Linked DNA regions of Homo sapiens: all the other regions are linked to region 2. The links are contacts of gene promoters, found by promoter capture Hi-C in blood cells and fetal thymus (Javierre and others, 2016). All regions are on one chromosome and are shown on one strand. Each heading gives the region's core, a stretch centred on a gene start or on the middle of the fragment in contact. The rest is flanking DNA. Distances are from core to core; before and after follow the strand shown. Region 1 holds the start of IL11RA (interleukin 11 receptor subunit alpha). Region 2 holds the start of TESK1 (testis associated actin remodelling kinase 1). Region 3 holds the start of CLTA (clathrin light chain A).

Region 1 (2,700 bases), core at 92-2,591, 950 kb after region 2:
AATGTTTCCTTAGGGTACAGCTGGCTGTGCTTCCAGGGGAAGGGAGGCCCCAGGTTGGGGGATATAAGGAGAGGCCAAAGAGTCCAGTTCCCCCTCCCCTGGAAGTTCCAGCCATTTCTCACCTCCCCCTCCATTCTTTGGGCCCCAGCACCAGGAAATGCCTTTGGTCCCTTGGTGCCAGATACACAAGACCCACAGTTACCCTCAGACTCATACACTCTCACATGCGGTCACTCACAGTCACACGGGCACAGCCACACCGCCTCAGACTCAGACACACTTACACATATTCATACACTCACGCAGTCACACACGCACACAGCCCCTACCAGGGCTCACAGCACCGCCTAAAAGCAACTCTTCATCATGGTCTAAGCCCCCTCTCTCAGGGAGCTCTTAGCCGGGGCAGACCCGCATCTCATCACTGTTACAGGCCCCCAACTAGCCAGAGATCAAGATCAGCAGGGAAGGCAGGCATAGGGGCACAGAGAGAGACAGAGAGAAAGGAAAGGCAAAACTGGAAATGCACCCACACAGAGAGACCAGGGGAACAAAGCTGTGAAGAAACACACAGAGGTATCTCTAGTAAGACAGCAATAGGGACAGAAAACGGCACGTAAGGGAAACTGAGCCAAGCAGGGAAACAGAAAATAAGGAGCAGTAGACCTGATGCTGGGGATTCTTGAGCAGAGGAAGGAGGGGAAGCCACGTGTGTTGTGGGTGTGTCTGTCAATGCTGGACACTTAAGAGAAAGGTCAGTCCCATGGGCTCTTGAGGTAGGTCCCCCAATACATGAATACAGCTGTACTCCCACACGGTTTAAGTTAGGACCCAGGACACACACATAGTCACAAACCTCACTTTTGCTCTGCTACTGCTGAAGTCACACATTGGCACACACAAAGCCAGCCACCCACTCTCACGCTGGCAGACATGGTCTCAAACCCCACAGAGACCTTCCCAAAACACATTCCCTCATGTGGTCACAGTCCCTCTCACACAAACACACAACCCAGTCCCACCAAAAATGTGCATTGACAGATACACACATAATCCCACACTTGCACAGCCACATGCACCTCCAGCTCCATGCACACTGACACACGCAGTCACATTAGCTGACAGCTGCACCAAGTGACACTCAGAATCGCACACAATGATACTGTCACACAGACACAGCCTCACAGGCACATACACACTGACAGTCGTTAGTCACTCCCGGCCTTTCAGATCATACATCACCCTGCCCCGCCCACTCCTGACAAGACTTTGGCGTCTACACCAGGCCTCACCTTCCGCGGCCGCTGCCGCCAGCGCCCTCTGCCCTCGCCCTCGCCCTCTGCCCCGGCCTCTACTCCCTCCCGCCCTGGGCCCCCGCAGCGGGGGTGGCTCCGCCCAGGCGCCAATGGAAGGAGAGGAGTGAAATAGGGGGGCTCCTGGCCCATTGGAGACTCCAACTGCCAATCACCTCCACCCCCACCTCCGCCGGACACTTCCTGTCCCGTCCCGGACTGAAGAGGCTGCTTGGGACAGAGTCTGGAGCTGGATTCCTGGGTCTCCGCCTGAAGGCCTATCCACCCTGGAACAGCAGGACTGGAAACAAGAGCCACTGGCCAGGTGATTGGAGAAGCTGAAGGTGCCCCTGACTCCAGATAAGATAAAGAAGAAGGAGGGCTGTGTAGGGCAGTGGTTCTCAAACTTTGCTGGATATTGTGGTTTGAAAACTGCAAAACCCCACCCCATACCAATTAAATCAGAGTCTCTGGAGGTTGGACCTAGGCACCAGTATTGTTTAAAACTTCCCAGATGATTCCAAAATGCAGCCAAATCAGAGGTGTAAGGTGTGTCGGGTATATGTATGCCTCAAGAAACCAGCCACCCACTCAGGGTTCTCATCTACTCCCCAGTCATGGGAAGCTCGAGGGAAATGTGTGCATACTATGTCTATCAGATCTTCCAGACCAGGGCAACACTCCCAAGTTCCAGGTACTTCCCCTCCAGGATCTCAGGGAAGAAAAACCCTGGTCTGGAAGGCAGGCAGCCAAGTTTCTCCTGGGCCAGATTCAGTCACTGTCCAGCCTTAGTGTGATTTCCCCACCCACAGGCTTGGTTCCCCTGGGGAAAGAACGAAGGCAAAAACCATTCTGGCCATCCCTGCATCATTCACAATGCCTGCCTTCGCCTTAAAATTTGGAGGACACCAGTGGCATCAGGTCTCCTGTGTTGCATAGACTGTTGTTCCCACAGCGTTGCCAGGGAAACAGGTCCAGAGGGGACTGAATAGACCCCAGGTCACTCTGAGAGCCATACCTTCCTTCCAGGCCCTAGGGTTCCTAACTCTAGCAGTCCCTTCTCTGTCAGAGCTGTTTCTGTTTGTGCAATGATTGGGGCACAAGGGCAGCAGAAGTATATGGTGCCCGCACATGTGAGAGTCTGGAGGAGCCAAGGACACAAAGCCACGTACACGCTCCCTACACACTCCCTACCCGCCCCTTTAGCCCCTGTGGGCTGGAGCAGAGCCAAGCTGCAGCCACTCACAAAGCCAGGGTTCTGGCCAGCAGCCCAGGATCTGGCCACTGACCACTGGGATCAGGATCCAGCTCACCCGCTCCCCATCAAACCCTCAGGCCCAGGCTTGGAGCTGACACCCTAGGGGTGGTGGCAAAGGGGGCTCTGGCCTTCCCAAAGCCTCAGCCACAA
Region 2 (4,044 bases), core at 505-3,004:
AACCTGCAAGAGGATGGGGAAGATAGAAGGATAGGCTATTAAAGGCCTCAGCTCCTCCTCAGTTCCACTTTTCCCGCGGGATCTTTCCCTTTCTCTCCCGCCCAGCAAGCTGCCCAGAGACTGGGGCCGCTCACCTTAGGATGTTGGGGTGCCTGAGCCGGTTCATCAGCTGCACTTCCCGTAGTGTGTTGCCCCGGTTACTGGGGAGCTTGTTCATCTTCAGCACCATGACTTGCCCTGACTGTCGGTGCCGAACCTGGGGGCAGGAGCAGCCGGCGAGGGCCGGGCAGGTCGGGCGGGTCGCCGGAGTCTGGACCCTCTTCCCCGCACTCCCGGCCCCCTAGTTTCAGCCTCTGGTTGAAGGCTCGGTCCCGCCCCTCTGCCCTCTCGGCCGGTCCTACCTTGTAGACCTCAGAGAAGAAGCCGGCCCCGATCTTCTCCGCGCAGTGAAAATCGTCCACACGCGCCAGGCTAGACACGGCGCTGCGGAGAGCCCGGTAGGAGGAGGGGCGGCCCCGGCCCGGGCCTCCGCCCGTGCCCCCCGGCCCCGGGGGCCCCTCCCCCGGCACCTCTCCAGGCCCGGGCCCAGGGCCCCGCAGTGGGGGCCGTTCCCCGGCCATGGCCGGGCCCCCAGCCCGGGCCTGCCTCACATGGCAGGGTCCCCAGGGCCCGGGCAGGCCGCGCTTGCCATGGGCGCGGGCCCAGCCCGATCCCGGGCGCCCGGACTCCGGCTCCCGCCCTGAGAATGGAAGATCCGCCGAAGATCCTGGACCCGCCCCCGCCGCGCCGGCTGGCTGGGCCCGGGTGGACGCCGCGCCGCTCCGCTCCGCGCAGGGCCTGGGCTTGGGCCTGGACCGGGCGGTGGCGGTGACGGTGGCGGCAGCGCTCCGGGGCGCCGGCGGGCTGGCTTGCCGCGGGCGGAGGCGGGCGGGCGGGCGGGCGGCGGCTGCTCCGCTTAGCCGCCGGGGATCAGGCTCCGCGGCCTGCCGGGGGCGGGGCTGGGCCGGGCCTCCGCTTAACTCCTTCCAGCCCGGCCTCCCGGCAGCGGCCACGCCCCCTCAGGTGCGCACCCCCGCCTCCCCGCTTTCCGGCCGCGATGCCCTGGGCCGCCCGGGTCAAATAAGCTCCGGCCTGAGCTTGAATAACGGGAGGGAATTAAGGGCTGATGGTGCGCATGCGAAGCTTAGCTGCCCAGGGAGTCCCCTCTCCTCCCTGGGTTACTGTCCGTTGAGGGTCGGGCTCAGAAACCTGCCGGATTCCTGGGCTCCAGGGACCAACGGGGCAGAAAGGTAGGCCCCTCAGGCCCAGCCGCAATCAGAGGTAGCCTAGCAACCTGTCCACCTTCCTGGCCTGCGCCCCGGCCCAGCCTGCCCATTTCCCAGGTCTCTTCGACTCCGACACCTTGAACCTCTGGCCTCCCTAACACCTTCTACCTTCACGGGAGGTTGTGATACCCCGGGGCTATAGGAAGCCTTTGGCCGGCCCATACCCAGCTTAGCCCCGACTCCTCCTCACTTCATCCTGCCGCCTCCCAATAAAGAAGAGAGTCCAGGTCCTCCGCCCTGTGACCACCCAGCCGGGACCTCCCTCTTACTACTTTGCCCAAAAGACTCTAAGAGAGAAGCCTCCACCTGCAGGGAAGCCCGTCCTTCCGCAAGATCCCACCCCCCTCAAAGAACGCTGTCCCTCGGAGACCCCTCCCTTCCTCAGTGAGACACCTCCCTTTCGGGGGCACTTTTCCCCAGTGTGGCACTGCCACCGTCAGTGTGTCAGAACCCCTCAGTGCTGCACCCCCTTGCTCTGTGTTCCTCCCACGCAGTGAGACCCCACCTCCGAGGAAATCCACTAGTCATTGTGACCCCTCCTCTCAAGGTGACTCCTCCCCTCAGTGTGACCCAGCCCTCCTCAGTGTGAGGGTTCCGCCCTCCACGTAGGAACACGGTCTGCCCCCTAAGGCCGGAGGAGGGGCTGCAACTGGCCTCTTTAAGTCGGCGCGGTGCCTGGGTGCGCACGCAGTCTCAGGACTCCGTGCACTCGCCGTACCAGACGCTTCCGGTTCTGCCGCTGGTTCCTCCTCCGGCCTCGGCGAAATAGCCAATCATCGCTAGGGTTGGGTGGTGACACGCGATCCCGGCGGTCCACTCCGGGGCAAACGGTTTAAAAGGGCGTCGTTGAGCCGCCTGCCACCTAGCGGCGGAACGGTGGGCGGAGGGAGAGAAAGCTGCCGTCTCGAGTGCGGAGGCAGGCTGAGAGCTCCTCGAGGAAGCGAGGCTGAGTCCTGCAGGAATTCTCAAGTACTGTATTGATATTTCTGTAGTAAGCTTAAAAGAGAATTAATACAAGCACAGTCCGTATCGCGTGGGGTTACCGTCTTCCAATGGAGTCTGGTTACACGTTTATGAGACTTGGAGCCAAGAAATACTACTCGCTTGTCGAGGGCTACTGAGAAAAGAATAAAGACGGTCATAAATGATACATGATGCCTTAGAGTCAAGAGAAGGCCAGATGCTGTCTTGGTGCGCTGTACAAGGGAAGGTATTGCACAAGTTTGGAGCGAGAGGAATGGGAGACATTCGCAATCCTTCCACAGCCGGTGGAGGCAGGCCAACCTCACAGAATTGCACGGGGCACGTGCATCCTGTTCTTTTTTCTGGAGGCGTTTGGTCTTCAGCACACGCTCATTCATCACATTAATGTTAACATCTACAACTAATTTGTGAATTTGCTTTTTATTGTATGACATCTGTAAACACTAGGAATTTATGCCTCATTTTGTTTAATATCATAGATCTTTTAACCGACACTGGGTTCTGGCCCTTTATCACGTTTGAGAATTACTGTAGTAGTTGGTGATGGTAATGCCAAGCCAAAGAGCCAGGTGCCTATTTTTTGTAAGATGATTGCGGTGGTTGTATGGAGGCCGGGAGACTGATTAGGAAGGAGGCTGTGACTGTGGTTCAATCAGGAAAGGATGAGACCAGCCTGGCCAACGTAGTGAAACCCCGTCTCTACTAAAAATACAAAAAAATTAGCCTGATGTGGCGAGCGCCTGTAATTCCAGCTACTCTGGAATCTGAGGCAGGTGAATCGCTTGAACCCGGGAGGCGGAGGTTGCAGTGAGCCAAGATCGCGCCATTACACTCCTGTCTAGGCGACAAGAGCGGGACTCTGTCTCAAAAAAACCTTTTGTTGTTGTTTGTATGGTGGAAAATGTCTTAACACACACACACAGAATAGAAAAATGAATGTTTATTTACCTTGGATTAGTAAGACCATTTTGTTGGAAACCCATAGTGCAAAATTGGCTTTCCTTTGCCTCAGTTGTACTGTTGCCATATTTGACCTGGCCCAGGTGAAAGTACCTACTTTCATTTACCCTTCTATGTCAGTGATTCTCCAATGAGCAATTCATGGCCAATCTTGTTTCATCTATACCCGTGCCCTCTTCCCCACTCCATATTTGTGTATATTTCTGACATATCATTTCATCCTGTAAATGTTTCAGTACGTTATCTCTAAATGATAAGGATTCTTCTTTAAAACCAAATCACAGTATTGTCACACCAAAAAAAAACAATAGTTCCTTCATGTCATCAAGCATCCAGTTGTTTACATTTCCCTCACTGTCTTACGTTTGATTTTTAAAAATTGTTTATTTGAATCAAAATCTAAATTAGGTCTGTACTTTGCAGGTGATATGTCTGTCTGTCTGTCTCTCTTTTTGTGAGACAGGGTCTGGCTCTATCACCCAGGATGGAGTGCAGTGGGTTGATCTCGGCTCACAGCAACCTCCACCCCCGAGGCTCAAGCAATCCTGCCTCAGCCTTCTGAGTGGCTGGGACTACTGAGGTGTGGGTACCACCACACCTGTCTAATTTTTGTATTTTTGTAGAGATGGGGTTTGCCACGTTGCCCAGGCTGGTCTCAACTCCTGGGCTCAAGCATTCCATTCGCCTTGGCCTCCCAAAGTGCTGGGATTATAGGTGTGAGCCACCACACCCAGCCATATGTTTCTTAAGTCTTTGCAGATCTATGCTTATTCTC
Region 3 (4,016 bases), core at 1,194-3,693, 590 kb before region 2:
CATAGAATCTTAACCACTAGAGCATATCTTTAAAAAAAAAAAAAAAGAAGGAAAAAGAAAACTAAGAGAGAAAAAGTGTCCAATCAGTTCTCTAAACTCCAAAGGAAATGCTGACCACTGCATATTACCAACTTCAATTACACTGTCAGGAATCTGGCTTTAAGTCACCAAATGCTTAGTTCACTAAGAAAGTCCCTCCTAGGAACTAAGTCAGCAACCATTTCTTTCCTTCCCTTTGCCGAAGGCTTGATGCACAAAGGACCGAGCATCCAACTCTATTCTCTCCCTTTTACCTTCCCTAACTGCCCGTCACCAAGATCTGTCAGTTCTACATAGGACCCTTGGATCTGACATTTTTGCCCATTTCTTTGTCAAACGTGAGCATCTACTACATGTCAGACACACTGCTAGGCAGTGGAGATAAAACAGTAAGGGTAACACTGTCCTTGAATCAGGACAATCTTCCAACTACAGATCTTGGGTTCTGCTTCTCCCAAATCTGTTCCACCTGGGACAGCCACAGCTGCCTGTCTGTTATCGCACTACACCCCTGCTAAAACAACTAAACACTGCAACAGAATGTGGTATATTCTAAGAGTGGGTAGACTTGGGGCTCAGCTATTAACTCGTGCTTTTTTAAGCAAGTCGTTTCTCTCTAGGATTGCTTCTCTTCTATTAAATGAGGAAGGTTAAACTAAGGGTCTAAGAAGTCAATTTTAAAATTCTCAGACAAATGTTAGAGACCACCCAATGAAAATATCCCCTAATCACTTAAGGCCAACTTCATCTCACAATCACAGCCTAGTTTAGTCCAACCTACCCGCTATAAAGTTGCATATTCGGGCATATTACATGTTCCCACTAAGTTCTTATTGGGGGACTGATTTGTTTAGGAAGCAACATGGTGCAGTCAAAAACTCAAGAGGCTGCAAACTAGCAGCACACCCACCAACCCATCCATCAAAAGGTTCCGCCTGGCTGGCACAGTAACTTGAGACTGCTGGATCTGAATGCCTTTACACAGAGCACTACTATAGTGCAGCAAAGCCTCAGTCTCCAACACTTCTACTGTCTCATGTCAAGCCAGCTTCTCTCGTATATGTTACCTACCTGGCTCCTTAAGGTTTGAATTTAGGGTAGACACTACTCCTATATGCCCCAGTAGTGCCCTATTCTCCCTTAGTTGGAATTTTTTAAGTGAATGAAAAGCCGTATTTCATTTCTTCTAGCTAAATTTCCTACTTCTTTGTATTATTAAGTAGGTCTTTTCCACTCATGATCCTAAGCATCACACACAGGTTAAGGCATCCAAAGGTCAAACTGCCATCCTACCTGCCCCATTTTTACTTGAGTTTGGCTGAGAACATTCTCTATTCACCTCTTCATCCCTCCCTGATTGGTTTAGGCTAATCTTGGGTTCTGCTTAGGCAATATTGCCTACCAAAGCTGTTCCCAGAGGAAGAGCTCCAGAAGTCCTAGCTGTAAATCAATCGCTCAACGATAGCAAACTCCTACCGCGCTTGGCAGTTCTTTCTCCAGACCTAGATCATCTTTCGAGTTCCCTACTCCCTCCTTCCTCCTCGTAATCCAACACTCTGTACACCTTAAGTGCTTAAATGCTGAACTGCATTGCTACTTTTGTTTGTATCTCTCAAAAACGATATTTCCATTCTTATTTTTTTCCGCCCTCCTTTTCTAATAACGAGTTCTGTGCTCGGCTCAGACTTATAAGCTTATAAGTCTGGAAAAACTGCGCCAATGCGGTTGCTTCAGAGACCGGACTAAAGGCACAGCAAATGCTTAATGAAAAGTTGCTGAATTGAACGGGCTTCTTCCGGCTCCGGAGCCTGCCACCCTACACTTGCTTTCTCGCTCCGCCCGCGCCCAGAAGCACTCAAACATGCTGAGAACCGAACAGGCTTCTCGAGCCTAGGTTTCTGAAAGACCGGGCCAGGGTCTCGTTTCCTGTTTGCACTGCTCCCTAACCTCCTAATTCAGCAAGGAGCACGAGTCACACAGAAGCTCTCGGACCCACTGTGGACCGAGTTTCCAGACAAGTCCTCTCGCCCCAAACGCGCCCGCACTCTCACCCGGACCCCCCGGCGGCTCGCCGTGCGGCTGGGGCCCGGGGGCGCCGCCGTCCAGGATGGCGAAGGCCTCGTCGTTCTCGATGCCCGCAATCTCGCTCTCTTGCTGCGCCAAGAAGGCCGCAGCCGGGTCTTCTTCGCCGGCGCCGGCCACTCCGTTCCCCAGCGCGGGACCGCCAGGGGCGCCGGCAGGGGCGCCGAACGGATCCAGCTCAGCCATGGCGGGCAACTGAACGGCACGGACACCAACGGTGAGACAAAAACCAACCGACCCACCGACACCACGCCCGGCAGCCACCGCTGTGGTGCCGACTGGGAGAGGAGGACAAGCGCCAGGAGGGAGACGGGTAAAGCGGAAGCCCTACCCGTGTATCCGGTCGGTCTAGGCGGTGTTGCAGAGCCGAAAAGGGAACAACCAATCAGAGGACAACAATGGTTCAGGAGCTACCCAATCAGCAAGTGGAGGGGCGGTCCCCCTAAAACAACTCGTGACTGGGGTAGGGCGGGAGGTGAGGGAGGTGAGCTGCGCGGGCCCCGGGAGGCGGAAGTGCTGCCTGATAGGGAGCGTCCTACCCACCCCGTCTGCTGGAGCTGGACTGACCAGGGACGGCCACCCCTGAGGGGACTCTAGTGCTGCACTGGGAGGTGAGGTGAAGTTAGGGCAGCGACGATTGGCCGATTACTGAAGAGGCATGCCACTTAGGCTTTCTGAACCTCAGTTTCCTCATTCGTAAAATAGAAACAAGAATCCTGCTCTTGCGCCCCCTCCCGGGATTATTAGAAGATTGAATCCTAAAAAAAAAGAAGAAGAAGATTGAATCCTTTTATGGATTTGAGGGTCCCTGGCTTTATAAATTTAAAATATTTAATTCTTTCAGCCAGCCTGGATTATTTGCTCCCTTAGAGCCCATAGATTTACTGTAATTGATTCAGTCCACTCCGATTTTTCTCGCCCATAAGTATTTTTATTTAAAAATGAATATATCTTATCTTCTTCAACGAAGCACTTTTGCAGCCATTACGTCTTTTCGGAGCTAGACAGAAGTTACTAAACCTGGAAAATTCCTTAAGGATCACTTGCTTCAAAGGGAGACACGGTGGCCCTGCTGTTCAAGGAGCGTCAGTGACCCAGAGAGTCAGTGACCAAGAGGAAACGCCTGTCTCCTGGGGACTTCCAAGATACTAGCTACAGTCTCTTATATTTACACCTTTCCTCCCTAAGGACAGCAGGAAAAAGAAAGTTCCGTGTTTCTTTTTAAATCAGGGAGATGTTAATAGCTACATGGCTCATTTTGTCTACACCACAGAAATAACAGTGGTTCCAGTTAATCATGCTCATGTTGAGGGGGAGTGCTTATGCAGGGGCCACCAGAAGACCCCTCTCCTTCACTACCACCACCACCACCCTAAGAAATGAAAAGCCAAAAAAAGAAACCAAAAAACCAGAGGTCAACAAGAAGCTTCCAGAGGTAGTCAGCAGGGGACAAGAAAGTGTTTTTATAAAAAACGCACATATCTTTGATGACAAAAAAAAAGGGATAGCTATGAAGGAAAAATGAAGCAAATAAAAATTATTTAAAGCATATATTTACTTAAAGCATAATTTTAAAGTCATTTAAAGTATGAACCATAGGAAAGTGTTGAAGAAAAACATTTAAGAAAGTTAAAATGTTAGGGTCTGCAATTGATTCTGTTTCCCCTTGTCTGTTGTTTTATGCTCATCCCTAACATACATTGGCAACAGTGCATGAAGTATTTTCACATTAGCCTTGACATAGTCTCATGAGGAAAAGAGGGGCAGGGACTACTATGAGAGAGCCCAAGGAAGACAACTTTTAGTTGCTCACAACAGTAGTAGCTCCGGAACAGACAGCATTCTTTTTGGGGAAATGCATGACTTTGGGAGAAACTCTCCTGTGATTCCCTTGC

The links. Contacts are between HindIII fragments. The CHiCAGO score rates a contact against its expected background, and 5 or more counts as called.
Region 1: the fragment with the promoter of IL11RA here is called in contact with a fragment that was not itself captured in region 2 in 1 of 17 cell types (erythroblasts); the score reaches 5.1 in erythroblasts.
Region 3: the fragment with the promoter of CLTA here is called in contact with a fragment that was not itself captured in region 2 in 1 of 17 cell types (fetal thymus); the score reaches 6.2 in fetal thymus.

Annotation. Positions count from the first base shown.
Region 1 is chr9:34,650,826-34,653,525 of GRCh38, reverse strand. IL11RA (interleukin 11 receptor subunit alpha) reads right to left here and starts at 1,341. Exons shown (of 13, transcript NM_001142784.3): 1 at 1,293-1,341. GALT (galactose-1-phosphate uridylyltransferase) reads right to left here. Exons shown (of 11, transcript NM_000155.4): 11 at 2,491-2,700. RefSeq lists a silencer at 1,286-1,385. The HindIII fragment of the contact is 12,105 bases long and covers 1-2,700 here.
Region 2 is chr9:35,602,196-35,606,239 of GRCh38, reverse strand. TESK1 (testis associated actin remodelling kinase 1) reads right to left here and starts at 978. Exons shown (of 10, transcript NM_006285.3): 1 at 402-978; 2 at 135-256; 3 at 1-3. The coding sequence starts at 620. RefSeq lists silencers at 113-372, 154-448, 383-552, 573-872, 903-1,152 and an enhancer at 1,633-1,742. The HindIII fragment of the contact is 1,139 bases long and covers 1,185-2,323 here.
Region 3 is chr9:36,189,348-36,193,363 of GRCh38, reverse strand. CLTA (clathrin light chain A) reads right to left here and starts at 2,443. Exons shown (of 5, transcript NM_001833.4): 1 at 2,091-2,443. The coding sequence starts at 2,307. RefSeq lists enhancers at 2,248-2,467, 2,183-2,808. The HindIII fragment of the contact is 1,815 bases long and covers 1,735-3,549 here.